Regions from separate parts of the Homo sapiens genome. Here regions 1, 2, 4, 5, 6 and 7 are each linked to region 3. The links are contacts of gene promoters, found by promoter capture Hi-C in human tissues and cell types (Jung and others, 2019). All regions are on one chromosome and are shown on one strand. The core of a region is centred on a gene start or on the middle of the fragment in contact, and the rest is flanking DNA. Distances in the headings are between cores, read along the strand shown.

Region 1 (3,748 bases), core at 1,149-3,648, 940 kb before region 3:
TGCCAGAGTTCCCTTTGCTAGAAAATGAGTAATCTTTTATCCAGCTTAAAAGTGGCTGCCAGATGGAGGGAGCTGGTTCTCTCACTGTTGGGGTGGGAATTCACAGATAAACAAGGGGAGGAGGCTCCAATGATCTGTGTAATGGATTAGAGTTGGAGATGTCAGCACGAGCTCATGTTTAGCTTAATATAGGTACAGATGTTTACCTATAAAAATATTTATAGATATGTGTGTGTTTAACAGTATATACACACATTTTTTTCTGTCAGCTGAGACTGAAAGAAATGACATCTCAATAGCAAGAAGCACACCTAGCACCCAGACCTTGGTTTCTCTTTTTTTTTTTTTTTTTTTTTTTTGATACGAAGTCTCGCTCTGTCACCCAGGCTGGAGTGCAGTGGTGCGATCTCGGCTCACTGCAACCTCCACCTCCCAAGTTCAAGGAATTCTCCTGTTTCAGCCTCCCATGTAGCTGAGACTACAGGCACACGCAACCATGCCTAGCTAATTTTTTTGTATTTTCAGTAGAGATGGGGTTTCACCATATTGGTCAGGCTGGTCCCAAACTCCTGACCTCAGGTGATGCACCTGCCTCAGCCTCCCAAAATGCTGGATTACAGGCATGAGCCACCATGCCCAGCCAGTTTCTAATGCCATTTTACAATGAAAGGAATCAGGGTTCCTCGTAGAAAATAGGATTCTAGGACTGGGGCAGGAAATACAAGATGAGCCCGGAGTATCCTGTAGTGTCAGAAAGGAAAGAGGCACTCAAACCCAAATAAGCTGGTATATACACTGGGTGTATGTCAAAGGAGCACAAGGAACCACTCAAATTCCCAGTGGCCAAAATGAGAACAATTTGAAAAAAAAATTAGTACTGTAGTATAACAAAGGATAAAATAACAATGGTCCACACTGATATAAATGATTGAATACATGGGGGAGAAGAAACAAATCTCCCATGCAGAATTCCAAATAATTTCTGTAGATACTCTGCCCCCAAGGAGGTGGAGCAAAATCCCCGACTCCTTACGTGTGGGCTGTGCATGGGGACGTCCTTCCAAAGAGTACAGTAGAGAAAAGAGGGGTGGGGGGACCTGACAAACACTACTTCAGTCAAGTGATCAAGTCAGCACCAACAGTGGTAAGTAACGTTGAACAGTAAGAACCCTTCCTTGGTAGGATGTGATGAGCATAGCACTTTACCTCTGTGATCTTCCTTCCAAAACGCCATAACGCTTGTCTAATCCTGAGAAAAACATCAAATCCCAATAGAGGGCCAGCCCACCAAAGATTTGGCCAGTACTCCTCAAAACTATCAAGGTCATCAAAAATAAAAAGCTGAGGCCAGGCGCGGTGGCTCACGCCTGTAATCCCAGCACTTTGGGAGGCTGAGACGGGCAGATCATGAGGTCAGATCAAGACCATCCTGGCCAACATGGTGAAACCCCGTCTCTACCAAAAATACAAAAATTAGCCGGGCATGGTGGTGTGTGCCTGTAATCCCAGCTGCTCAGGAGGCTGAGACAGGAGAATCGCTTGAACCTGGGAGGCAGAGGTTGCAGTGAGCTGAGATCATGCCACTGCACTCCAGCTAAAATAAAAATAAAAGGCTGAGACACTGTCATTAACAGTAGTCTAAGACATGACAACGAAATATAATGTGGTATCCTGAATGGAAACCTGCAGCAGAAAAAGGCATTAAGTAAAAGGAAGGAAATCTGAATAAACTACACTTTAGTTAATATGACAACAGTGCATCGTTAATTTTAACAAATGTAGCACACTAATAATGTAAGATTTTAGTAATAGGGGAAATTGCAGGGATGGGTGGCACATGGGAACTCTCTACTATCTTCTCAATTTTTCTGTAAATCTGTTCTAAAAAATAACGTCCGTTATTATTATTATTATTATTATTATTATTTGCGGGGAGGGGACACAGTCTTGCTCTGTCTCCCAGGCTGGAGTGCAGTGGTGAGATCTCGGCTCACTGCAATCTCCGCCTCCTGGGTTCAAGCGATTCTCATGTGTCAGCCTCCCCAGTAGCTAGGGCTACAGGTGCCTACCACCACACCCGGCTAATTTTATATTTTTAGTAGAGACGTGGTTTCACCATGTTGGTCAGGCTGGTCTCGAACTCCTGACCTCAGGTGATCCGCCCGCCTCAGCCTCCCAAAGGGCTGGGATTACAGGCAGGAGCCACCATGCCTGGCAAAAATAACGTCCATAAACAAAAACACGTGGCCAACAGGGGCGGAGCAGAACCGAGTTTCCGGAAGCAAAACAGGGCTTTGTACCGAACAAAGATGGCGGCCGCCGGCGTCGGGAGGAGGGCTGCCCTGAAGAAAGATGGCCTCCGCGAGAGGAGGAACCGGAAGCGTGGGTCTGGCGGCTGCACCGGTTCGCGGTCGGCGCGAGAACAAGCAGGGTGGCGCGGGTCCGGGCATGAAGCTGGGCCGGGCCGTGCTGGGCCTGCTGCTGCTGGCGCCGTCCGTGGTGCAGGCGGTGGAGCCCATCAGCCTGGGACTGGCCCTGGCCGGCGTCCTCACCGGCTACATCTACCCGCGTCTCTACTGCCTCTTCGCCGAGTGCTGCGGGCAGAAGCGGAGCCTTAGCCGGGAGGGTAGGCTGGGGCGGGGGCTGGAGGCTGGGGCTGGGGCTGGGGCTGGGCGATGGCACTAGGGCTGAACTAGGACCAGGGCATGGAGAATGGAGGATGGAGGCCGGGGGATGGCACCAGGGCCGGGCTAGGACTAGGGCTGGAGCGGGGCCTGGGGGCTGGGGCTGGGCGATGGCACTAGGGCCGGGTTGGGGCTGGGGCTGGGGCTGGGGGATGGAGCGGGGCCCGGGGGCTGGGGGTGGGGCTGGGGGATCGCACTAGGGCTGGGTTAAGACCAGGGCGGTTGGCTGGGGCTAGGGGATTGAGGATGGTGGATGGAGGCTGGGGGATGGCAGTAGGGCCGGGCTAGGACTGGGGCTGGAGCGGAGTTTGGGGGCTGGGGCTCAGGAGCGGGGGCTGGGGCTGGGGCTGGGGCTGGGGGATGGCACTAGGGCCAGGCCGGGGTAGGGGTCACATCCCAGGAGGGCCGGGCCTGGGCAGAGCTGAGTCCGCGGGGGCCGGACCCCGGAAGCCAAGCGGCCGGCCTGCAGGATGAGGCCTGGCTCCTCGGCCATGACCACAGACGTGCCAGACTTAAGTCGGAGACCTGAGGAGCCAGGCTGCAGGTTGGCCTACTTTGCGCTAAGCTGGGGGTGGACCAGTGGTAACCTCCCTCCGAAGTGGGTTCTGCCTCCTTTCTAGCCTAGCGGGAGACAGGAAGGATGGTGAGGACTCTTCCGCAGCCGACCAGGAGGGACCAAACTGTTTCCTTTCCCGGCTCTGCCTTGGGGTGGGAGGAGCAGCACAGGGGTTAGGGGTGCAAACTGGTGGCAGTGGCAGTGGCACCAAGGGGCTTTTCGGGAAGGAGTCGGGCCAGGGCTTTAGAATAGGCAGGACCAGCAAAGGGAGGGCTCCCTGGACCGCCGTCCCCTCTGGGCCAGGAGCTTACAGACCGCAGTACTTGAGGTTTCGCAAGGTGCTTGGAGGGCGTCTAGACGGCTTTGCTGGCTTTCTTATGGGCTGTAAATGTGGCTACATTTTGCCGCTGTTTCTTCCCCACTCCTGATTGGCTTTGTCTTTCCCAGCACTGCAGAAGGATCTGGACGACAACCTCTTTGGACAGCATCTTGCAAAGAAAATCATCTT
Region 2 (3,821 bases), core at 1-2,500, 750 kb after region 3:
TGAAGGAAGTGGGTGGAGCAAAACCCATATGGGCGAGTGTCCCAGCAGCTGCCTCAGTTTCCCTATCTGTAAAACGGGGCTGGGGACCTGCAGCTCTCACGGGACTGGTTACCCGCTCGCGGGTGCTCGCCCTGCATCCGAGACAGCACCTACAACTCCAAACCCACTCGGGGCGGGTCGAGGTGGGCCCTTCGGTCCCTTCGAAGCCAACATCCCGATTCCCCTTCCCGGGAAGGCACCCCCGGAAACGCCAAGGTCGCTCCAGCAGTCTCCTCGGGTCACCCGCTTCCCCGAAGCCGTCGTCCTCGCCTTCCGCTCTCGTCTTCACCGGCATACTCAGGTCCCCGCTGGGGACTGACACTGCGGGCTCGGTCGCCGCAAGGACTGGAAGGAAGGTGGAAGATGCGGGGCGAAAGCGGAGCGAGAAGAGTGGGACGCGGCGGAGCAGCAGAGCCGGGACTCAGAGCTCCCCCCTCGCCCCGCCCCTCTCCCCGCCCACTCTGCGAGTCCCGCCCCCTCTCGGGCGCCGGGCGGGGCCATCCCGGGGCTGTCCGCGGAGACGCCTATGCGGTGGAGGCTCCGGGCTTCAGCTAGGGCGGGGGAGCCCAGCAGAAGGACCGAGCAGCCTGGCACCCCACTTTGCCATCCTCTCCCTGGAAATCTCGGGGTCGGCGGGCCGGCCGCTTCGCGTGGGCGAAATCAGAGACACGTGGTTTCCAAGGCCCCTTCGGGTTCGGGAAAATTTTATGGTTCGGGTCACAGTAGGAAGCGGACAATGAGGCGGGAGGGCAGAGAGAACCGCAACACCTGGTGCCGGGTCGGGTCGTTTCCGGGGCTTTCAGTGGCCGGAAGTCGCGGCGCCTGTACTGACTCTAGGAAGGGCTGGAGTTGTTTTGAATGGGCGCCCGTAAGAGAGGTGGGCAAGTACGTGTTACAGACGGCCACGCCGCCCTTTAGGCGGTCAAGGTGGGGCGAGGAGACGTTCGCCCCCCTGCAGTCGGCCGGGTCACTACCCAAGAGCCTTTGGAGGCGGAAGCATGGAACGGTCTGCAAACGTTCCCGAGCGGGCCTCTGCGGCTCTGGCGGGCGTTTCGAACTTGGGCGCCGGGCACACGCCCAGTCCCGAGAGCGCTGAGGGTTCCCTTAGCGTCGCCCTCACCCCGGCCAACCCGCGGGGCGCCAGAGTCCTGGCCCTTTAAACGCCGCGCGTGCCTCGGCGTCTTCGTTTCGCGCGCCCGCCCGCGGCGCCGGCGGAGCGAACATGGACCCGGCTGCGCGGGTGGTGCGGGCGCTGTGGCCTGGTGGGTGCGCCTTGGCCTGGAGGCTGGGAGGCCGCCCCCAGCCGCTGCTACCCACGCAGAGCCGGGCTGGCTTCGCGGGGGCGGCGGGCGGCCCGAGCCCCGTGGCTGCAGCTCGTAAGGGGAGCCCGCGGCTGCTGGGAGCTGCGGCGCTGGCCCTGGGGGGAGCCCTGGGGCTGTACCACACGGCGCGGTGGCACCTGCGCGCCCAGGACCTCCACGCAGAGCGCTCAGCCGCGCAGGTAAGGCCTGGCCCGGCCGGGGATGGGGATGCTGATCAGCGCCGAACTCGGGACTCCTGGGAACCCGCAGGGTCAGGAGTTGCCTCTGCCTGCTTGTGACCTTGGGCGAGTGACTTGGTCTGAAGTCTCCGAACCCTCTGTATTCTTTTGTGTAAAATAGGGGCACTCCTGATGCCTACTACCTGGAATTGTTCGAGTTCTCATAAAATCGTTCTTCTACCGTGGTTTTTTTTTTTTTTTTTTTTTTGGTTTGTTTATTTATGTTTTCGAGACAGGGTCTCGCATTATCGCCCAGGCTGGAGTGCGATCGCGGCTCACTGCAGCCTCTGCCTCCCAGGTTGAAGGGATCCTCCTGCCTCAGCCTCCCGAGTAGCTGGGACTATAGGCTCACCCCACTGCGCCCTGCTAATTTTTGTATTTTTTGTAGAGATAGGGTTTCACCATGTCGCCCAGGCTGGTCTCGAACTCCTGGCCTCAAGTGATCCGCCCACCTTGGCCTCTGAAAGTGCTGGGATCACAGGCGTGAGCCACTGCGCCCAGCCTTTACCATGTTTTAAGGAGACTTTTTTTTTTTGAGACGGAGTTTTTTTTTGCTCTGTTGCCCAGGCTGGAGTGCAGTGGCGCGATCTCGGTTCACTGCAACCTCCGCCTCCTGGGTTCAAGCAATTCTCCTGCCTCAGCCTCCCCAGTAGCTGGGATTACAGGCGCCTGCCACCCAGCCCGGCTAATTTTTGTATTTTTACTAGAGACGGGGGTCTCACCATGTTGGCCAAGCTGGTCTCGAACTCCTGACCTCAAATGAGCCACCCGCCTCGGCCTCCCAAAGTGCTGGGATTACAGGTGTGAGCCACGGAGCCCAGCCTCTACCGTGTTTTAAGACTTTTTTGATTAAGAGATGGGAGATCACAGGAAAGGGAAAGCCTTTTTCACTTTCCAAACGTTCATCATCCTCTCTCCCCACTGCCCCCAAATCCTAAGGCTGTGTATTTATTTAGTAGTAGTGGTGGTACCTTTATGGAACTGATGACTTAGACTCCAGGCTGAAACAGGAAGAGGTAGAAAGGTGCCCCCCCCAAGTGGTGACCCCCTAAGTGGTGGCCCAGCTGCCTTGAGACACTTTATACCTACCCCACACCTTGCAACTCTTCATTACTTGACTTCCCACCACCCGCCCACAGATGCTTATTTGCTGGACCAGAGGGAACAGAGGTGGGTAAAAAGGGCATGGAGTACTCTGTGTCTCCCTTCCTGCCTCCACGGTCCAGCTTCCCCTCTGAACACAGGGGGATGGTCTACAGTTGTGGCTTCCCGGCATGAACGTGCAGCAGGCTCCCCTGGGGGCTTTCCTGCGGAGCTTGCCACACGCAGGCCTTGGCTCAGATACCACCCTCCCCCTCGGATATTTGAGATAGACTTTGGCTGGAGGATCACATGAACCCCGGAGTTCAAGGCTGCAGTGAGCTGTGATCAAGCTACTGCACTCCAGCTTGGATGGCAGAGTGAGACCCTGTCTCCAGAGAAAAAAACAAGAAAGAGATTGGAGGTAGACCCCACTGGTGAACATGAGCCTGGGTGGTAGCCCAGCTCTGCCCCCAGAGGTCCCTGGGGTTAGAGGAGTGAGAGTGAACAAGTCAAGTTGAAACAGTTGTTCCATGTCTGTGGGAGTGGGGTGTATACCCTGGGGCTGTCTGGTGTCCCCTTGGGACTGGAGTGAGAAAAGAGGGGTCTGTCCAGTATGGGACAGAGACTAGAAGATTCCTCCTACACAACCTCGCAGCAAAGGGTGGGACTCCTGCTTGGGGACCGTGCTGGCCAGGGGCTTAAACCTGGGCTGCTGTCCAGTGCCTCCCTTTCCCCTACCGCCCCCTTCCATCTCTAGTTCCTCTTCCCGATGTTCTAGCGTCATTTCAGAAGACTCCTCTGGAAAACACCCTTGGGGGCAGGGCCTGGGCCTGGGGGTGCCAGGTCTAGAAGCCTTTTCCGTCTGCTGCCCGCAGCTCTCCCTGTCCAGCCGCCTGCAGCTGACCCTGTACCAGTACAAGACGTGTCCCTTCTGCAGCAAGGTCCGAGCCTTCCTCGACTTCCATGCCCTGCCCTACCAGGTGGTGGAGGTGAACCCTGTGCGCAGGGCTGAGATCAAGTTCTCCTCCTACAGAAAGGTGCCCATCCTGGTGGCCCAGGAAGGAGAAAGCTCGGTGAGCCCCAGGGAACCCCCTGCATCCTTCCTCCTTTCCTGGGTTGTCCTGGAGCGCCCCCTAGCCTGGCCTGGCTCTGCAGCCTG
Region 3 (3,879 bases), core at 1,367-3,866:
GGGCACCCACTGAGGCTGGGTGGTCCAATCACCTGCCCATGGCAGAGCCAGGTCCAGAACTTGGGCCCCTGGACTCCCTGTCACTAATTATTCTAGTCCCTCCTCTTCCAGAAAGCATACCCTGACCACCCCCTACATAACCACCCAGAGCTAATTCCTTCTTCCTCTGGGCTGCCTCTGTAATATTTCTATTAATATGGTGGCCACAGTATATCAGAACTTATGTGTCTTCTGGTTTGCCTGTCCTCCCAGACTGCAGCTCTCAGGAGGCCAGGGATGTTTTCCCAGCCATCCCAGGCCCAAGACAGGCACTTTCTAAAGAATGGCTGAATGAATGAATGAATGAATGAATGAGTCAAGGCATGGAGAGACACTGTGCTGGGCTCTAAGAGCCCCACATCCATCCCACCTGAATCTCCAAGAGGTCTTGGCCCATCAGTGTGTGCCTCAGTTTCTCCATGTGAAAACCTGGAATCAGCTCTACTCTAAGACGAGGCAGTCAGGAACCAGGCTGATTTCCCTCCAACTCCTACAGGCAAGGTCCAGGCCAAGCCAGGCAGCAACCCAGGGTCCGGCCACTTCCCTGAGTTCTGACCCACGGCAGTGATCCCCAGGATTCCCTACAGTCCAGAAAGGTCATTCAAGAGTTTGCAAAGGAAACGGCTTCCTGGTGGGTGTGCCTAAGGGATGGAGAACCACCACATCTAGTCAAGTTCTGGGGGGAAGTCATGAACATTTCCTGTGCCCCCGCTCTGTTTTTTTTTTTGTTTTTTTGAGATGGAATTTTGCTCTTCTTGCCCAAGCTGGAGTGCAATGGCGCGATCTTGGCTCACTGCAACCTCTGCCTGCTGGGTTCAAGCAATTCTCCTGCCTCAGCCTCCCGAATAGCTGGGATTACGGGTGCGCAGCCCCATGCCTGGCTAATTTTTTGTATTTTTAGTAGAGACAAGGTTTCACTATGTTGGCCAGGCTGGTCTCGAACTCCTGACCTCGTGATCTGCCCGCTTCAGCCTCCCAACGTGCTGGGATTACAGGCGTGAGCCACCACGCCCGGCCCTGCACCCCCTGCTCTGTACCCTATGGTCCCTAGAACGCAGAGGGCATCAGACCCCATGCCAAAGCCCTGAGACCAGGAAAACAAGGAAGCAGAGACCAGCCACCCAGTCACTCATCCCTGGCATGTCCACAACAGCCTCCTCCAGCACAGGTCATCTGTCCTTGCCTCACTTCATGAGCCAGAGGAAGACTTGACCTTCATGGAAGCAACACCAGTGAGACTGAGCAATCAGCACTGCCCAGTCTCTCTGAACAAACTCCCACTCCCACATCCCCTCCACAGGAAGTATCAGCAACAGCCGATCTCCTCCCGCTTCTTACAGCCTGTCTGTCTGCCAGGTTGTCTGCTCCAAAGGGCAGAATACAGTTTGGCAGGGGTTAAGAGTACTACTAACAGAAGAGGTGGAAGAGGTCCTTGGGAACTTCGGGCTCCCCCAGTTCCCTTCCTCTTACCAGGTGCTCTCCCTCCACACCTCATTCTCAAAAGGCTTCCTGAGGTAGGGCAGGGGAAGAGGAGTCAGTGGAAGTGTGGCTCACCCAGGAACCGCCCACCCTTCCAGCCAAGTCTCCATCAGGAGGCGGCTACCAGACAACCCCCGACCCATCCCTCCTTCCCAAAAAAGGCAACAATCGCAACAGCTGAGAACCGGCAGACCTCGGTTCACCCCGGTCCAGATCAAGGGGAAGAAGCAGTCAGCGAAAGCAGCAGAATCATCATGAACTCCATGACCCCAGCTATGCCCCTTCAGCCTGGGAGCTCAGTTTGCTGGGTATCCAGCTCACCTAGGGCTGCACCAGGCCTGGACCTCACTGGATCTCGCCTCGCCCTCGGGCCCACCTGAATGCACAGGACTGGGACAGGGTCTGGGTTCTTAGATTCCGGACCGGTCTTCCCAAATATCCCATCCCAGAAAGGCCCCAAGAGCCTAGCCGGGGATCCTGCCCCCAAGTCAGGGCACTGCCCCCATCGGAACGATAGGAAGGAGGGGTGCAAGGGAAGAGAAGGGGACCAGGAACTCAGGAGAAGACAGCTAAGGAAATCTTTGAAAAAGAAATGGCAAGGAGAGAGCCCAGAGGTGGAACCTCTAGGAACGGGAGAGTGTGTGTGGAGGGGTGAGGATCTGGGGGGACCCAGGGGATGACAAGGGGACATGGGGGAGCCGAGGCGGAAACTCCTGGTTTCTGAAGCACAAGGAGGCACAGGGGTGCCTGGGAGGGGGCTCGCGCGCCGCGGAGCCGGCGAGAAGGTGGTGCCCCGGAGACTCCGGGCACTGGGGAGCCCAGAGGTAGGCCGAACACCGCGGGAGGTCCCCAGGGGGCCGGCCCGGAGACAGAGCCCCAGATGCCCCGGGCGCCCCGGGCCGGGCAGCTGGCCGAGGGCGTGTGTAAGTGGGTTTCGAGAGGTGACAGCTCGCGCCCCTTTCCCCACCCCGTCCACTCACCTGGGCTCGCCGCGCCCGGCCGCCCGGCAGGCAGCCCCAGGCCCCGGCCGCTCCGTCCCGCCGCCGGCCGCAGCGCTGCTCCGGCGCCTCCTTTTGTTTGTCCCTCACTGCACCACTCAGCCTCCTCCGCCCCGGAAGTGACGTCACCGCCGGGCGCGAACGCGGCGGCCAGGGCGTCGCCATCTTTATGAGGAGAATTCTAGCGGCGCTTTCTCCCGCTCTCGCCTCCGCGCTAGCGCCCTGCTGCTTCGGGGCGGAAGTAGCGGAGCCGGGCTCGGCCCCCTTAAAGGGACAGGGACTGCTGCAACCTACGGGGTGTACTTGGGAACGAGGGGTGAAGCGGCCCAGGTGAGGGTGAGTAGCTGTGTCGGAGCGCCACTTCCCCAAGGTCAGGTGCCGAGGCTGGGAGGGTCGGCTAACGGTTCCGAGCTTGGTTGTGCTAGAGTGCTTAATGAGTTTGATGCTACTAAGTATAACGGAGTGGCTGCACAGAATGATTGAGCCGCCCGCGGGAATCAACTGCGCGTGCTGCTCGCTGATTCTCGCTCGGACACTGGGGCTGGTCCTGTCTGCACCCAAATCCCCCTCCCACGACCGCGCCGGTGGAGATGATACCCGAGACAACAGAATTCTGGACAGATCTGGGGTTGGAATTGGGTCCCCAGACTCCAACTCTGCAGCTCCATAAATCCCGCTGGGTCCTCGCAAATTCCCTGGCTGATAACAGTACCGGCAACCAAATTAAAAAATAATCCATACAGTGGAATACTGTGCAGCCATTAAGACGAACAATGTTTAATATGCACTAATGTAGGGTGACTTCTAAGATACCTTAGGTTAAAAAAGGAAACAACAGTAAAAACAGCGTTGGGCCGGTTGCGGTGGCTCACGTCTGTAATCCCAGCACTTTGGGAGGCCGAGGCGGGCGGATCACGAGGTCAGGAGATCGAGACCATCCTGGCTAACTTGGTGAAACCTCATCTCTACTAAAAATACAAAAAAATCAGCCGGGCGTGGTGGTGGGCGCCTGTAGTCCCAGCTACTCTGGAGGCTGAGGCAGGAGAATGGCATGAACTCGGGAGGTGGAGCTTGCAGTGAGCCGAGATCGCGCCGCTGCACTCCAGCCTGGGCGACAGAGCGAGACTCCGTCTAAAAAAAGAAAAAACAGCGTTGATGGGTGCTATCCATCTTTGCGTAGAAGGACGCCTGAGGGTGGGCGTATCTGCGGGTGTGCGCGCCAGCTGTCTGATAAGATGCACAAGAAGTTGTTAATTGCGGTTGTCTCCGACAGAATTGGGGTCTTGGGTACCTGGGCCAGGGCGAGAAATTTACTACCATGTGCACAGATAGATAATTAAAAATAAGATGATGAAGATAGTCG
Region 4 (3,978 bases), core at 1,342-3,841, 810 kb before region 3:
CTTGAACCCAGGAGGTGGAGATTGCAGTGAGCCGAGATCACACCATTGCACTCCAGCCTGGGTGACAGAGTGAGACCCTGCCTCAAAAATAAAATAAATAAATAAATAAATAAGTACCGTCTAGGCCAGGCACGATGGCTCATACCTGTAGTCTGGGCAAACACAGTGACACCCTGTCCCTACAAAAAAAATTTTTTTAATTAGCTGAGCATGGTGGTGTGTGCCTGTAGTCCCAGCTGTTAGGGAGGCTGAGGTGGGAGGATGGCTTGAGCCCGGGAGATGGAGGCTGCCATGAGCTGTGATCATGCCACTGCACTTCAGCCTGGATGACAGAGCTAGACCCTGTCTCAAAAAAAAAAAAAAAGTATATTTAAAAAGGGAAAAGAATATTAAAAAATAAATTTCACAACTGGCTCTCTGTGGGGGAGGAGATCCTTAATTTACAGTGTTTGTCAATTTCTGGGGTATAAATACTTCTACCATGGCCAATTTCAAGCCACAACATAACATCAATGAAGACGAAATCGAGAAGAGGTGCCCTAAAGCCCACCAGTGTGTGGTATTCCTACCATCCAGATACCACAGTGCAAATAACCTCAAGCATAAATAACAGCAAAATGTAAAATTATGAGAAAGAGATGAGATCTGAGTATCTATTGCCTGTGTTTTAAATATAATTTCTGTGATTGTAAGTTTATATAATTTTTTTTTTTTGACAGAGTCGCTTTGTCATGCAGGCTGGGTGCAATGGTGCGATCTTGGGTCACCGCAACCCCTGCCTCCCAGGTTCAAGCAATTCTCCTGCCTCAGCCTCCCATGTAGCTGGGATTACAGGTTCCCGCCATGACGCGTGTCTAATTTTTTTTTTTTTTTTTGTATATTTAGCAGAGACAGGGTTTCACCATGTTGTCTAGGCTGGTCCCGAACTCCTGACCTCAAGTGATCCACCCGCCTCAGCCTCCCAAAGTGCTGGGATTACAGGCATAAGCCACTGTGTCCGGGCCTTAATTTTTAATAATATCTGTGTTTGACAACCAGCTTCCAAAATTCTAAAAACTTAACAATAGGCTCTTGTGCAGTAGGACAAGCGGGCACAAGCACACCACTCTAGTTTACAGCCCACCTAAAGGAGAGGGTCTTATTTTTGCCTCTCTCCTCTCATCCTTACCCATATGCAGCTGTGTTTTGTTGGAGATGGCCTCATGGTGTAGAGCCCATTTGAGAGTTAAGAGCTGGCACTGGCTGGGCGCGGTGGCTCATGCCTGTAATCCCAGCACTTTGGGAGGCCAAGGCGGGCAGATCATGAGGTCAGGAGTTCAAGACCAGCCTGGTCAACATAGTGAAACCCCATCTCTACTAAAAATACAAAAAATTAGCCAGAAGTGGTGGCAGGCATCTGTAATCCCAGCTACTCAGGAGGCTGAGGCAGGAGAATCGCTTGAACCCAGGAGGCGGAGACTGCAGTGAGCCGAGATCGCACCACTGCACTCCAGCCTGGGTGACAGAGCGAGACTCCGTCTTAAAAAAAAAAAAAAAAAAAAGAGCTGGCACCGTACTTATGGTGCTAGTCATGTCTGTCCAAGGACTAGCAGCCCCCAGAGCTGCTGCCTTTGGGAGGGCCCTCTCAGGTCTCCAGATCCTGGGTACCTTGATCAGGGTTCAGATCCTACCCATTGGCGTGATACAACCTGTGTGCCAACTCCATCACCTGCGCCGGGCAGCAGGGGCCTTTCTAAAGTGAGTTGTTACCCTCAAAAGTGTGCCCAGAGGGCTGGAAAAGTCATGTTGGAGAAAACTCGGGCCCCAGCTCTTAGGCCAACTCTCAGGGAGAGAATGACGCAGCCCTGAAAACAGAGGATCGCAGCGGAGAGGAGGACAGGCTGGGTAAGGTGGGAGGGATGAAGGCAGCAGGGTGGGACAGGGCCTCGGCCCTAGCTGCACGGGGCATTACTGGGGAGCAGTAGAGGGTGGAGCCTTTAAAAATAAGATGCTATTGGCCAGGCGCGGTGGCTCACGCCTGTGATCCCAGCACTTTGGGAGGCTGAGGCGGGCGGATCACAAGGTCAAGAGATTGAGACCATCCTGGCCAACACGGTGAAACCCCGTCTCTACTAAAAATACAAAAAATAGCCAGGCGTGATGGCGCGCGCCTGTAATACGAGCTACTTGGGAGGCTGAAGCAGGAGAATCGCTTGAACCTGGGAGACAGAGGTTGCAGTGAGCCAAGATTGTGCCACTGCACTCCAGCCTGGGCGAAAGAGTAAGACTCCGTCTCAATAAATAAATAAATAAGCAAAATAAGATGCCAAGCCCCCGCCCCCACCCCGGAGAGTCGGACTCCACAGGTTCGGAGTGAGGCCTGGCCATCAGCATTCATTGAAAGCTCGCCAGCTCATGCTACCGTGCAGCCAGGGTTGAGGACCACTCACTGGCGACACCAAGTGCAAGGTCTTTGCGCATCAGACCAGCCTAGAGTTGAGGCCCAGCCCTATGGCCAGGGACCACTTGTCCCAAATAAGCCTTGGTATCTTCATCTGCAAAAGCGACATCTACTTACAGGGTTGGTATTGGTGATAACTCAAGCAAACACGCACAGTGGGAGATGGGAGAATGGGAAATGATGATGGATGCCACTAACTCGCGTGGAGCAATTCCTTCAAGCGGAGCACTAAGCCAAATGCCTGGTCACACCGAAATCTGGCAGTCCTGAGAGACAAGCATTATCACTTACTCCCCTTTTCCAAACGAGGAAGCCCTGGCTCAGGGAGCATGGTGACCTGCACAAGTGGCAGAGGCAGGATTCCAGCCGAAGCAGGCAGGCTTCTTACTGAAGACCCCTGTGCTCTGGGAGCTCAGAGAAGAGCTTAGGGGTGGAGAAGGCAGGGAAGCTTGAAGGAGGAGAGAAATGGAGAGAAGACAGGAGTGTGTTCAGGAGCACAGGAGTGTCTCTCTGTGCCATGAAGCCAAACCAGCACCCCTAAGCCATGAGCCTACCCGCAGCCAACGACACACAACATTTCTGGCCTCGTGCACACTTCACCTCTTTTCTGTGAGACCCAACCTGAAAAGATTCTATTCTGTATGATTCCAGCAACAGGACAGACACTTTCCTTTCCTTTCCATTCTATGAATGAGAAGCCTGAGGCCGCAGAGGGGAGGATGCTAGGCCTAGAGCCACCCAACCAGAGGGTGGTGCTGTGTGAACTGGTGAAGAGAGTAAACAATGGGCTCCTACTCATCCTACAAGACCCAACTGGAAAAGCCCTCTCCTGATGCCCAGAACCCCTGTGCACGTTTGCTTCAGCCTCCTCACACTGGGTTCCAGGCTTGGTCTCCTGTCCTAGCTCTGCTAGGCTCCCAGGTTTCAGGTGTCTCTTTGGGGCCCATGCCATTGAATGGCAGGAGACAGAGTGACAGAAATGTGGACCCAGTGAGCCCTCCTGGCTGTTCTCCTTCAGAGTCAAGAGACCTTGTCCTGACGTGGATGATGCTTCTTGGGAGAAACGTGAGGTCAGTGTGCTACTGCGTGTTTGCGGGGTAGGGAAAGGAAGGCACCTGGGGCAGAGACTGTGGGAGGGAGTTCATGATCAGAGACCACACTGTAGACACAGGTCCAGGGTAGCTCTTCAAATGACCCCCATTATATCATGGGGCTCTTCCCAGTCCTCAAAGCCATTTCTTGACCGGGCACGGTGACTCACACCTATAATCCCAGCACTTTTAGGAGGCTGAGGTGGGAGGATCGCTTGAGTCCAAGAGTTCAAGACCAGCTTGGGCAACAGAGTGAGACCCCCATCTCTACAAAAAAGACAAAAATTAGCCAGGCATGGTAGTGGCATGCCTGTAGTCCCAGTTACCTGGCAGGCTGAGGTGGGAGGATGGCTTGAGCCCAGAGGCGGAGGTTGCAGTGAGCCAAGATAGCACCACTGCACTCCAGCCTGGGTGACAGAGTGAGACCCCCATCTCTACAAAAAATAT
Region 5 (4,145 bases), core at 106-2,605, 750 kb before region 3:
GGCCGGGGAGCTCCTGAGAGCAGTGGCAACATTTGAGATTTATCACCATGCTTCTCTTGCATCCCATGAAACACAAATATTCAACAGAAAGTTCACCTCTGATCAAATGAACAGAATAAATCTGGGGGCAAACACATACCAGGCTGGACTCCATCCGTCTCCTCTCCCAGCATGCAGCTTCCTGGGGGTAGAGACATTACCTTGTACACCATTAGCCCAGTGCCTGATACCAGGTGGGCATTGACTAACTGGTTGCCAAATAATGCAAGAATGGGCTTTGTGCAGCTATAGCCATTTTCCACTCTAAGAAAATCCTACAGACAAAAGTCCAACCATTCAGAACTGGTAAATACTGAAGGCCTGAAGGCTGCTACCGACAATATAATTCTGTGCTTTACCAAAAGCCTTGTAACATGATTCCTTTAAATGTCAGGGTCCCCTGAATAATCTAATTTACAAGAATTCCACTTACACGCAAATTCTGGGAACAAGCCAGGGGAGGCACATCCTGGCCGGGAAATAGCAAGCCTGACTTTGACATCTGCCCTAACAGCTGATTCATTAATAAACGGGATTCCTGGGGTCCTGGCTACATTTTGCCTCGTGGTGTCCAGATTGGAGTGGGGCAGGAGGAGGTCCCTAAGAGTCTGAGGGAACAGCAAGGTCAGTCAGCCAACAGCAGGTGGTCCTGCTACACTCTGCTCCAGAGCACAGATGCCGTATGTGGCTGAAGGGCCTGGGAGGGGGCCAGGAGCACACGGGCTTTGTGTGCACTCTAGGCTAGCTCAGAGAGGAAGACAAACCCCTCATGCCTGGTAAATGGCTGCTCAGCCAGTAAATGTGATCCTACATCCTTCACAGTCACCTGGCTGCTGCCTCCTCCTCCCCGCCAAGGTGTTCAGACCCAAGGTACTGCATCTCTTCTCCCACGACCCATGGAAGAAAACAGTGCTGAAACTGTCACCGGCAGACTTTTGCAGTCATCTCATCCTCCTCACGTAAGTCTCTACGGAAAAGCCTGCCTAAAAGTTACCTCCACCCTCTAGCAGCCTAGTGGACAGAGTCCATCCTCCCTGGATCTTTGTGGACAGCAGCAGGCCACATGCAAACGGCAGAGTGCTCTAAGAAAAAGAAGGAAGTGAGAAAGGGAGGGAAGAAGACAAAACAGGGGATACATTTAAAAACTAACAAAGGCTCTGATGGAGCCAGATGAACCAGATCTGAATCTTGGCTCTGCACACCTGCTGTGTAAGCACAGACAAGACATTAAACCTCACCATTCCTCAGTTCACCTATAAAATGGAACAGTAATACCGACTTTACAGAAAGGCTGTGATTAAAAGTGCATATGAAAAGCTTAAAGTGCTTTGCACAGTGCCGGGCACATATTCTCTCTTGAGCTTAGAAATCTCTGTCAAATGAGATTCTTGTCAACTCTGCCCACTATGAGGATCAAATGGGAAAACTGCCTTAGAATGCCACAGAAGCTGTATTGGACACACCTAGGGGACTGTTACTGGTATGCTGGGCGGCCAAGCCAGCAGACTCAAACAGCTCTGCAAATCAGCCAGAGTGGGGAGTGAGCTTCCTCTGCCTATAAGCACAGAACCCCCACCGAGATTTTTTAGATGCCATCCTTGTGATCCTAGGGCTTCCGGCCTCCACCAAAACGCTCCATGCATCCTTCCAACCCCCGCACAGTCCTCAGTTTACATAGAGAAAAACCAGCACACTAAAGGAAGTGACGTGTCTTTAAACATACAAACAGGAAGCCGAGAACAGAATTAAGGAGGGAATCCAGGCTCCTTATACCAGCCCTGGTTCCTCCCAGAGGCTCATCCCATCTCACTGGGCAATCATTCTACACACCACAACCACCGGTTACACTGTCCCTCCCCGCTGTCAGGGCCTCTGACACCAGTTGTGGCAATCACTTATAGTACAGAGGAGAAACCAAAGTCCAGAGGGAGAGATCACACAGTTGGTGCGCAGCAAAGTCTGGGCTTTTCGATATGGCAGCCTCCCTGCAGACAGGCTGACCTTGGCCGCAAGGGCTCTCGGGCTGTCTTTTTTGAGCTGCACCTGTGTCGGGCTGGCGCTCGGGTGGCACCCAAGGTTAAATACGACAGCAACTTCTGTGCAGCGGGCACTTAACTGTGCCAGGCTCTGAACTGGGCATTTTACCGATTTTACCGATTCCTCCCATCCATCCTCCAAGTGGGCGCTCTCCATATCCCTGTTTCTCGGAAGGGAAACAGGCTCAGAGAAAGGGATTTGCTGCGGTCTGGGGACCGGGGTGGGGGAGTGCCCTGCCTGGGCTTTGAGTGCCTTGACTTTCCTCCTGTACCCCGACCCATGGACTGCTCCGTAGTCCCTGCCCAGGTCCGGCCCGTAGACCTCTTGGGGACGCGCACGTGAGGCCTGTGCCGGCCCGCGCGCACGCGCCGGGTCACGTGACGAGCCGGGGACCCGGGACCTCAGGGCGCCGAAACAGTTAGGGGTCGCAGCCTCCCCTCTCCCAGCGGCTGCCTACCCTTCGCACCGCCTCGCGCTACTCACTCCGGGCGGGGGCTCCCGGGACCGAGAGAAGAAGATGGGGAAGAGGAAGGGAGGGCGGCGGCGGCGGAGACGCCACAAGCCAACCGCAGCTCCGCCAGACCACGACCAGACGCGACAGCTCGCGGCGCGCGCTGCCTTTGTCCGCCAACGTCACTTCCGGGCGTTTAGGGGCGGGCCCATGGCTGGCTCCACCCCCTCGCTCAGCTCGCCCCTCCCCCGCGCGGGCTCCGGATTTAACTTAACTTCTTTTGAAAAATAATTTAAATTTTTTTTTTTTTTTTTTTGAGATAGAATCTTGCTCTGTCAAGCAGGCTGGAGTGCAGTGGCGCGATCTCGGCTCACCGCAACCTCTGCCTCCCAGGTTCCAGCGATTCTCCTGCGTCAGCCTCCAGAGTACCTGGGACTACAGGCGTGAGCTACCACACCCAGCTAATTTTTGTATTTTTAGTAGAGACGGGTTTTCACCATGTTGGCCAGGCTGGTCTCGAACTCCTGACTTCAAGTGATCCGCCCGCCTCTGCCTTCCGAAGTGTTGGGATTATAGGCGTGAGCCACCGCACCTGGCCTAATTTGACTTCTTTAAAAAAAAAAAATTAGAGACGGGGTCTCACCCTGTTGCTCAGGCTGATCTTGAACTCCTGGCCTCAAGCGAGGCTTCCACCTCGGCCTTCCAGACTGCTGGGATTACATGCGTGAGCCACCGCGCCCAACACAGGTTACAGCTCAAAACTTGACTAAATTGACTTTTGGGAATCTAGAAGGACCTCCCGAACGGAAAAGAGCCGCAGCGTCGCCCTCTCCCCGTCCCCAGCACGTACAACAGTTCGTTTGGAGGCTGCAGGCTGGACTTCTAAAAACGAGTGTGTTGTGCGGGCTTTGAGTAAAAAGGGAAAAAAAAGCCATTGGTCCTCAAATCCACCCATCTCCATTAGCATCTTAAAATAATACCGACCCCCCAAAATAAATAAAATAAAAAGAAATACTCTCGGCAGTGCCATGGGATTCCCACTGAAATGAGCAAAACAAGCCCATGACGTTTCCATTCCAAAAGCGTGGCCCTTCCCTAGGCTCCTCCCATGCAAAGAAATTCTGGAGCTATCTCCGAGGCAGCGGTGATGGAAACGGGAGCTTGCAGGTGGGTAGAGCCTGTTAACATTTCCGAGCTTCAGTCTCCTGTCAGAAGAGGAAGTTGAGCAACGTAATAATTACTCAACTTCTGATGCTCTGAGAGGGTTAAACTTGTGGGACATTGCACGTCAGACCTTCAGCTCAGCACCTGCAGTGGGTTCTCAGGAAATGGAAGCTGTTATAATGACAATATCCATCTTAAGTTCATTTTTCCTATACTATTAATAATATCCTTGTGTTGGCAGGGCACGGTGGTGCACGACTCTAATCCCAGCATTTTGGGAGGCCAAGGCAGGCGGATCACCTGAGGTCAGGAATTTGAGACCAGCCTGGCCAACATGGCAAAACCCCGTCTCTACTAAAAATACAAAATTAGCCAGGGATGGTGGTGCATGCCTGTAGTCCCAGCTACTCTGAGGCTGAGGCAGGAGAATAGCCTGAACCTAGGAGGCAGAAGT
Region 6 (4,151 bases), core at 1,553-4,052, 920 kb before region 3:
CTACACCTGGCTAATTTTTTTATTTTTTGTAGAGATGGAGTCTTGCTATGTTGCCAGTGGGAATGTTAACCTTGACAAGGACAACATTCATTTAAATGAGAACTAACCCTCCTAGACAACTTAATATAAAATGAATGTGGAAACAATATCTCAAAAGGAGAAACAGTCTCAAGGTTCAGTTCTTTGAGGCTTCCTTTGAAGAAAGCAATGCCAAGGACATGAAGGATGGGAGGAACAAAGGGAATAAAACCTGTTAAGGAGAAAAAAGACCTCTAGGCTACATTGCAAAGAGCAGAGGCAAAGCTGAGGCTGCACCAGAGGTGGGCAGCATTGAATGAAGCCACACCGGAGCAAATCCTTGAAGACTGACTGCCCCTTCTCACCAACTGCACTGCTGGGGATGTGGAATCCCTTCACTCACCAGAGAAGGTGGCTACCATGTCAACTGGGAGTTGGGAGGTTTTGGTTCTGCTACAAAGGTCCTGTTCTGCTACAAAGATTGTAGGAGTAAGTCACCTTGCCTCTGGGCTCCAGGCTCCATCTTTTTTTTTTTTCTTTTTTTTTGAGACAGAGTCTCATTCTGTTGCCCAGGCTGGGGTGCAGTGGCCCATTCTCAGCTGACTGCAACCTCAGCCTCCCAAGTAGCTTGAATTACAGGCGCACGCCATCACGCCCGGCTAATTTTGTATTTTCAGTAGAGACGGGGTTTCTCCATGTTGGTCAGGCTGGTCTCGAACTCCCGACCTCAGGTGATCCGCCCGCCTTGGCGGATCCCAAAGTGCTGGGATTACAGGCGTGAGCCACTGCACCTGGCCCTGACTACATCTCTCTTTTTTTTTTTTTTTTCTGAGACAGAGTCTCACTGTGTCGCCCAGGCTGGAGTGCAGTGGCGCGATCTCGGCTCAGTGCAAGCTCCGCCTCCCGGGTTCAGGCCATTCTCCTGCCTCAGCCTCCCGAGTAGCTGGGACAACAGGTGCCCGCCACCATCCCCGGCTAATTTTTTGTATTTTTAGTAGAGACGGGGTCTCACCGTGTTAGCCAGGATGGTCTCCATCTCCTGACCTCGTGATCCGCCCCCCTCGGCCTCCGAAAGTGCTGGGATTACAGGCGTGAGCCACTGTGCCAGGCCTTTTTTTTTTTTTTTTTTTTGAGACCGAGTACGGTGGCGCGATCTCAGCTCACTGCAACCTCTGCCACCCAGGTTCAAGCGATTCTCCTGCCTCAGCCTCCCAAGTAGCTGGGATTACAGGTGCGTGCCACCGTGCTCAGGTAATTTTGGTACTTTTAGGTAGAGATGGGGTTTCACCATGTTGGCCAGGCTGGTCTCAAACTCCTGGCCTCAAATGATCCGCCCGCCTCGGCTTCCCCAAAATGCTGGGATTACAGGCGTGAGCCACGGCGCCAGGCCCTTGGCTCCCCATCTTTTAATGGAAATAACATCCCCTACCCCACTGGACTGTTTTGGAACCAAGTAAGAGAAATGTTGTAGGAGAGCTTTGTAACTACCTGGACTAAGTGTGCCTTAACTCAGTGGAGCCGGGGGCTACAGCAACACAAAGGAAAGAGAAGCAGAGGCCAGAGTTAGTGAGCAGGTCACCCGGACCAGTCCGACTGGCCTGCAGACGAGATAATAGCGGGTTCTCTTGCCTGGTACAGTTTTATCTTCTGCTCATGAGGGAAGTGCAGAGTCGATACAAACAGGTGGACAAAGTTACTCTTCAGACCTTTTGGGTGAAGATTTTCAGCCACAATTTGACTGACAAAATTCTTGCCTGTGCCAGCCCAGCCGTGTAAGGAAAGGGTCAGTGGTTTCTTGGGATTTTTGTTGTTCCTGAAGCCAGTCAGCGCCTTGAAAATCACTTCCGTGGCTAGATGCTGTCCAAACAGCTTCTCCTCCAAATCCAGCTTGAGAGCTGCAAGAACAGCCCCAGAACAAAGAGAGAAACAGACCTTAAAAATGCATCAGCAACGCAGCACTTTCTTAGCTGGCCAAAGCAAGAAGCACAGATTATCCAGGGACACAGCAGGGTGTCTGCCACACCCTAGGGCCGAGGCAGTCAAACGATGCCACTTTCAAGATTATGTGGAGGTCCTTAACGCTTCGGGGTCTGATAAGGAAGCTAAATGTTCATTCATTCAGAGATGAACCATCGCTTGACTGAGCGCTTGCTAATCCCAGCCACCCTTGCTGACCTGCAGGAAAACCAGGGGCCAAATGTGGGCTTTCTGGGCGACGCAGCACGTCTGAAAACTACTTAATAGGGTTGGCAGGGCGCAGAAGGGCCGCCCGCCTACTTTCCGTTTCTTCCACCTGTGATCCCAAGGAACGGGAGCTTTAGAAAGGCGCTGGGGCAGCCCCACGATCTGGAGACTGTTTGCGAAGGCACCGCTTCTGCGTTCCCGCGAACGGTTCCGGGGCCGCCCCATCCGCTCCCCGCCCACCCCAGCTGGGACCACCGCCGTCTAGATGCCACGGGCCCGGTCCGTGCCAGGCGCCCACGAGGCCGTCCCTCCGCGCCCCCGCGCCCCCGCGCCCCCCGCAGCGCCGACCCACAGCTCGCGCGCGCGCCGTACCCGAAGCGTTGAGCGGCCGCTCCTCGCGGCAGCACTCGGCGAAGCGGCAGTAGATGTCATTGTAGGACAGGTAGCCGGTGATGGCCGACGCGGCCCCGATGGCTAGGCCCACGGTGATGGGCTCGAACGCCGCCACCACTCGGGCCGCCAGCAGCAGCGCCAGCGCCGCCGCGCCCCGGAGCCACCCAGCCCGCAACATCCCGCTCCTCGAAGCCCGCAGAAGCCACTGAGCCAGGCGCCCCGCGGCCAAGCGGCAGGACGGACTTCCTCTCGTGCGTCACTTCCGCCCCGCAGACCCGCCCACTCCCTTGGGGGCGGCCATGTTGGTGAGGGGCGGAGAGGAGGGCGGTGCCATCGTTCTTGGGAGTGGTCCGAAGGTGTAGGAGACTGTTTTGTTTCCCTTTTCTTTTAAAAAAATTTTTTCGGGCCGGGCGCGGTGGCTCACGCCTGTAATCCCAGGACTTTGGGAGGCCGAGCCGAGATCACGCCATTGCACTCCAGCCTGGGCAACAAGAGTGAAAAAATATCTAAAAAAAAAAAAAAAAATTTTTTTTTTTTGGCCGGGCGCCGTGGCTCACGCCTGTAATCCCAGCACTTTGGGAAGCTGAAGCGGGCGGATCACCTGATGTCAGGAGTTCGAGACCAGCCTGCTCAACGTGGCGAAACCCCGTCTCTACTAAAAATACAAAAAATTAGATGGGTGTGGTGGCGGGCGCCTGTAATCCCAGCTACTCGGGAGGTTGAGGCAGGAGAATCTCTTGAACCCAGGAGGCGGAGGTTGCAGTTAGCCGAGATCGTGCCACTGCACTCCAGCCTGGGCGACAAGAGCGAAACTGTCTCAAAAAAAAAAAAAAAGGCTGGCCGGGCGCGGCGGCTCACGCCTGTAATCCCAGCACTTTGGGAGGCCGAGGCAGGCGGATCACGAGGTCAGGAGATCAAGACCATCCTGGCTAACACAGTGAAATCCCATCACTACGAAAAATAGAAAAAATCAGCCGGGCATGGTGGCGGGCGCCTGTAGTCCCAGCTACTCGGGAGGCTGAGGCAGGAGAATGGCGTGAACCTGGGAGGCGGAGCTTGCAGTGAGCCGAGATCGTGCCACTGCACTCCAGCCTGGACGACAGAGCGAGACTCCGTCTCAAAAAAAACAAAAAAAAGCCAAAAAAAATTTTTTTAAACTTTCTTATATTTTTTTCTTATCTGATATGTATATTGGGGACAGGGTCTGGCTCTGTCGCCCCGGCTGGAGCGCAGTGGCAGGATCTCGGCTCGCTGCAAACTCTTCCTCCCAGGTTCAAGCGATTCTCCCATCTCAGCTGCTGGAGTAGCTGGGATTATAGGTGCCCGCCAACACGCCCAGCCAACTTTTGTGTTTTTAGTAGAGACGGGGTTTCGCCATGTGGCCCAAGCTGGTCTCGAACTCCTGACCTCAAGCGATCTACCTGCCTCCGTCTTCCAAAGCCTGGGGTTACAGGAGTGGGCTTATGGCTGGATTTGTTTTCTTCAGAGCTTCTCGGAGCCCTCAAGCTTTGCTTTGTTATCCCTCCCTTCACTTCGCCGGAGGTATAATGTGCGTT
Region 7 (3,740 bases), core at 1,061-3,560, 710 kb after region 3:
GGTGCAGCCACAGCTGCAGCAGGAGGCAGAGCCACAGAAGCAGGTGCAGCCACAGGTACAGCCACAGGCACATTCACAGGGCCCAAGGCAGGTGCAGCTGCAGCAGGAGGCAGAGCCGCTGAAGCAGGTGCAGCCACAGGTGCAGCCCCAGGCACATTCACAGCCCCCAAGGCAGGTGCAGCTGCAGCTGCAGAAGCAGGTCCAGACACAGACATATCCACAGGTCCACACACAGGCACAGCCAAGCGTCCAGCCACAGGAGCATCCTCCAGCGCAGGTGTCAGTACAGCCACCAGAGCAGACCCATGAGCAGCCTCACACCCAGCCGCAGGTGTCGTTGCTGGCTCCAGAGCAAACACCAGTTGTGGTTCATGTCTGCGGGCTGGAGATGCCACCTGATGCAGTAGAAGCTGGTGGAGGTAAGTGAGCACTGGCTCCCAGCTGGTCTGGTGATGGGACAGCTCTGCCCAGACCCTTCATTCCTCCCCTGACTGGGTGCTGCCTGGGACTGAGGGCTAGGCCTGGAACCCAGGTCCAGGGCCATCCATGCTGGGGGCCTCAAGGTTCTGGCTGCGGACGGAGAAGGCAGCTCTTGGGCCTGGGGACTCTGGGAAATACAGCACATCTGTCATTTCAGGCATGGAAAAGACCTTGCCAGAGCCTGTGGGCACCCAAGTCAGCATGGAAGAGATTCAGAATGAGTCGGCCTGTGGCCTAGATGTGGGAGAATGTGAAAACAGAGCGAGAGAGATGCCAGGGGTGGGTAGAGGCCCTGATGTGGCAGTGTGAGGGCCACAGAGCCCAGCAGGGTGGGATGGCCTCTTTCTGCCCCAGGCCACCTCAGGGCCTCCTTGTGTTTCCCCCACCGTGAAATGGGATGACAGCCCTCTGCCTAGGATGGGTGGCCAGACCAGGCTGGGCTTGATAGTGGTGTGCATGGGACCCTCTTGCTGTTGTGCTGTCTTCACATCCGTCCCTTCCAGCCTGCCCATCCCCAAGCCAGAGCCCCAGTCTCCTCGCATGGGTAATGTTGCTCTCGTGGAGAGAGCACAGAGTGGAAGCCTCTCTGTGGGATTTGGGTCCCAGCTCTGCGTAACTGTGGGCAAACCCTTTCCCTCCTGAGTCTGTTTCCCCATCTGTCATACAAGGGGTGGGATGAGTGGTACTTTAGGCCGACCTGGGTTCGCATCCTGACTGCAGTGCTTTCTAGCTGTGCAAGCTGGGGTAGTCAGCTAACAGCTCAGAGCCTCAGTTTCCCTATCATCAGGAAGATCTGATGAGACAACGTTGGCAGATGTTGAATGCTGGGCTGGCCCACTATAAGTACACAGTTGATGGAAGTTCAGTTCCTACTCCCCATGCAGGTATGGGGCGCCGGGGGCTCCCTGAAGGTCACCATTCTGCAGAGCAGTGACAGCCGGGCCTTTAGCACTGTACCCCTGACACCTGTCCCCCGCCCCAGTGACTCCGTCTCCTCCACCCCTGCGGCTACCAGCACTCCCTCTAAGCAGGCCCTCCAGTTCTTCTGCTACATCTGCAAGGCCAGCTGCTCCAGCCAGCAGGTACTGATACAGGAGATAAGGGTGGGGAGGGGTGGGGCCTGCGTGGAATGCCCAGCCTGCCCTCCCAAGAATGCCTCAGGCTGCAATGGGCCCTGCCCCAAGCAGCCATGCATTTGCTTGGGAAACATTTCCTGACCTGCCAAGAAGGCAGGTTTTGGTGGTTTTGTTTTTTGTTTTGAGACAGGGTCTTACTCTGCCTCCCAGGTTGGAGTGCAGTGGCATGATCTCAGCTCACTGCAGCCTCTACCTCTTGGGCTCAAGCAGGTTTTTAGAGTCAGTCAGACCTGGTTCATATCGGCTCTGAGTAGCTGGGAGACCTTGGAAAGCGAATTCCACCCTGTGCCTGTTTCCTCTTGCATCAGACAAAGGAAAGTTTAGGGTCGGGCACAGTGGCTCACGCCTGTAATCCCAGCACTTTGGGAGGCTGAGGTGGGTGGATCACAAGGTCAGGAGTTTGAGACCAGCCTGAACAACATGGTGAAACCCCGTCTCTACTAAAAATATGTGTTGGCATGCTTCTGTAATCCCAGCTACTCAGGAGGCTGAGGCAGAAGAATTGCTTGAACCCAGGAGGCAGAGGTTGCAGTGAGCCAAGATCATGCCACTGTGCTCCAGCCTGGGTAACAGAGCGAGACTCTCAAAACGAAACAAAAAAAAGAAACGTTTAGAATCCACCTCACTGGGTGGTTCTGGGGATTCAGCAATGTGACATTGGAGTCCTGAGCGCAGGCCTGGCCCAAAGTGAGTGTAGCAGTAATCATGATCGCATTGTACTTGTATTACTACTCTTGTGCTGTGAGCTGTGTTACTCTGTGCCTCACCTGGCACAGCCTTGGAGACCTGGATGCTAATCAGGCCGCTCCTTGTCTTTGAGGCACTCACACATTCTCTGGGAGGGGCAGAAGCTCGGGCTGGCATGTACCCTGTGTCTTAGTTTATCATGCCTGCTCTAGCCTACACAAGAGAGAAATGTGTGGTGAGAGAAATGGGCGCACAGTGATGAGGCTGGGGTCTGCCTCCCCAGGCCCCAGCCTTGCCCACTGTTCTGGGCTCACGCCCCAGGCCCATCCCTCTTTCCCTCCTGCTGCAGGAGTTCCAGGACCACATGTCGGAGCCTCAGCACCAGCAGCGGCTAGGGGAGATCCAGCACATGAGCCAAGCCTGCCTCCTGTCCCTGCTGCCCGTGCCCCGGGACGTCCTGGAGACAGAGGATGAGTGAGTGGGGGATCGTGGAAGCTCTGTGTTGGGGGGTAGGCAGTCTCATCGGCCAGGGCCTGAATCTACCATCTGCAGGGTTTACCTTTGGGTTAAGCACTGCACCCCCAGCCAGGCCTCCTCACACTGTTAACTGTGTGACCTTGAACCTCAGTTTTCCCTGCCTGTAACATGGCTTGGTGACGGATATAGTACAGGAATTCATGACATTCTCTTAAGGTTCCCTCTAGGCAGGAACAGTATGACCATCCCTGTGGGAGAGGACAGGTTGTGGCACAGACTCTTGCCCCCTGTGGCATGTGTGCTAACCCCGCTGTGGGGTGACAAGGCTGAGGATCAGGTTCTTTTGTGGTTGGAGGTTAGGGTTTCCCTGTGTCTCCCCCTTTCATTGTCATGGGAGCCTGTTTAATCAGAAACTTCAGCCCTCCTGGGGTCTGGAACTATACTGGGGTGGGAAGGCCTGGCAGGCAGCCAGAGGTGCTTTCAGGACTCTGTGGGCAGTCATAGAGGTGTGCAAGGGCTGGGATGTGTCATCTCAGCAGCAGGACCATGTTAGCTAGGGCCACAGCGGGGACACAGGCTCTGTCTCAGGAGACAGCTGCTTCTCATCTCTGGATCTCTTAGTTTTAAGAAGAATCCAGAAATCCAGGTTTGTATGTGAAATCTCCCAATTTCAAAATGTTAACAGCTAGTTCAGAATTGAAACAAAACAAACCCTACGGAGAGCAAATCAAACACTTTCATAGGCTGGACGGTCCCTTGAGTCAGTGGTCACGGGCTCTGTCCTAATTTTACAGAGGTCACAATTTGAAGCTTCCAGGTGGGGCTGAGGGGACAGGAAGGGCTCTTGGTTGGCCTCCGCTTGCCTGCCTTGTGTGACAGGGGGCTCTCGCTCTGCAAGGGCAGGCTGTGTCTCTGTTAGCTGTTTCTCCCTTTGAGAAGAGCGTCCTTGAGTGGTTTTCT

The links. The method cuts DNA at HindIII sites, captures the fragments that hold promoters and counts their contacts. A contact is called where the count stands out against the background at its distance.
Region 1: the fragment with the promoter of TOR1A here is called in contact with the fragment with the promoter of LRRC8A in region 3 in 1 of the 25 tissues and cell types used here (dorsolateral prefrontal cortex).
Region 2: a contact is called between the fragment with the promoter of PTGES2 here and the fragment with the promoter of LRRC8A in region 3, in 1 of the 25 tissues and cell types used here (spleen).
Region 4: a fragment that was not itself captured here is called in contact with the fragment with the promoter of LRRC8A in region 3 in 1 of the 25 tissues and cell types used here (spleen).
Region 5: a contact is called between a fragment that was not itself captured here and the fragment with the promoter of LRRC8A in region 3, in 1 of the 25 tissues and cell types used here (dorsolateral prefrontal cortex).
Region 6: the fragment with the promoter of TOR1B here is called in contact with the fragment with the promoter of LRRC8A in region 3 in 4 of the 25 tissues and cell types used here (IMR-90 fibroblasts, dorsolateral prefrontal cortex, hippocampus and 1 more).
Region 7: a contact is called between a fragment that was not itself captured here and the fragment with the promoter of LRRC8A in region 3, in 2 of the 25 tissues and cell types used here (liver and lymphoblastoid cells).

What each region holds. Positions count from the first base shown.
Region 1 is chr9:129,822,786-129,826,533 of GRCh38, reverse strand. It overlaps TOR1A (torsin family 1 member A), which reads left to right and starts at 2,398. Exons shown (of 5, transcript NM_000113.3): 1 at 2,398-2,626; 2 at 3,688-3,748. The coding sequence starts at 2,449. RefSeq lists an enhancer at 2,204-2,513 and a silencer at 2,924-3,013. The HindIII fragment of the contact is 10,199 bases long and covers 1-3,748 here.
Region 2 is chr9:128,125,158-128,128,978 of GRCh38, reverse strand. PTGES2 (prostaglandin E synthase 2) reads left to right here and starts at 1,250. Exons shown (of 7, transcript NM_025072.7): 1 at 1,250-1,540; 2 at 3,538-3,735. The coding sequence starts at 1,262. It overlaps PTGES2-DT (PTGES2 divergent transcript), which reads right to left and starts at 450. Exons shown (of 1, transcript NR_024425.1): 1 at 1-450. RefSeq lists silencers at 240-349, 380-579, 1,220-1,509 and enhancers at 890-1,009, 1,650-1,729. The HindIII fragment of the contact is 32,314 bases long and covers 1-2,910 here.
Region 3 is chr9:128,880,870-128,884,748 of GRCh38, reverse strand. It overlaps LRRC8A (leucine rich repeat containing 8 VRAC subunit A), which reads right to left and starts at 2,616. Exons shown (of 4, transcript NM_019594.4): 1 at 2,499-2,616. KYAT1-SPOUT1 (KYAT1-SPOUT1 readthrough) reads left to right here and starts at 2,799. Exons shown (of 25, transcript NR_182311.1): 1 at 2,799-2,852. KYAT1 (kynurenine aminotransferase 1) reads left to right here and starts at 2,799. Exons shown (of 13, transcript NM_004059.5): 1 at 2,799-2,852. RefSeq lists a silencer at 2,270-2,549 and an enhancer at 2,580-2,729. The HindIII fragment of the contact is 17,929 bases long and covers 1-3,879 here.
Region 4 is chr9:129,688,068-129,692,045 of GRCh38, reverse strand. The region is part of intron 1 of PRRX2 (paired related homeobox 2); the gene reads right to left. Among named protein-coding and RNA genes, the nearest start is that of PRRX2, 24 kb to the right of the region's middle. The HindIII fragment of the contact is 4,845 bases long and covers 169-3,978 here.
Region 5 is chr9:129,624,710-129,628,854 of GRCh38, reverse strand. NTMT1 (N-terminal Xaa-Pro-Lys N-methyltransferase 1) reads right to left here and starts at 2,692. Exons shown (of 4, transcript NM_014064.4): 1 at 2,560-2,692. RefSeq lists a silencer at 2,328-2,567 and an enhancer at 2,181-2,719. The HindIII fragment of the contact is 3,089 bases long and covers 1-2,899 here.
Region 6 is chr9:129,801,835-129,805,985 of GRCh38, reverse strand. TOR1B (torsin family 1 member B) reads right to left here and starts at 2,802. Exons shown (of 5, transcript NM_014506.3): 1 at 2,575-2,802; 2 at 1,648-1,913. The coding sequence starts at 2,773. RefSeq lists silencers at 2,413-2,532, 2,593-2,722. The HindIII fragment of the contact is 20,911 bases long and covers 1-4,151 here.
Region 7 is chr9:128,175,388-128,179,127 of GRCh38, reverse strand. It overlaps CIZ1 (CDKN1A interacting zinc finger protein 1), which reads left to right. Exons shown (of 17, transcript NM_001131016.2): 8 at 1-419; 9 at 638-759; 10 at 1,365-1,562; 11 at 2,653-2,777. Among named protein-coding and RNA genes, the nearest start is that of CIZ1, 14 kb to the left of the region's middle. RefSeq lists an enhancer at 203-894. The HindIII fragment of the contact is 7,872 bases long and covers 1-3,740 here.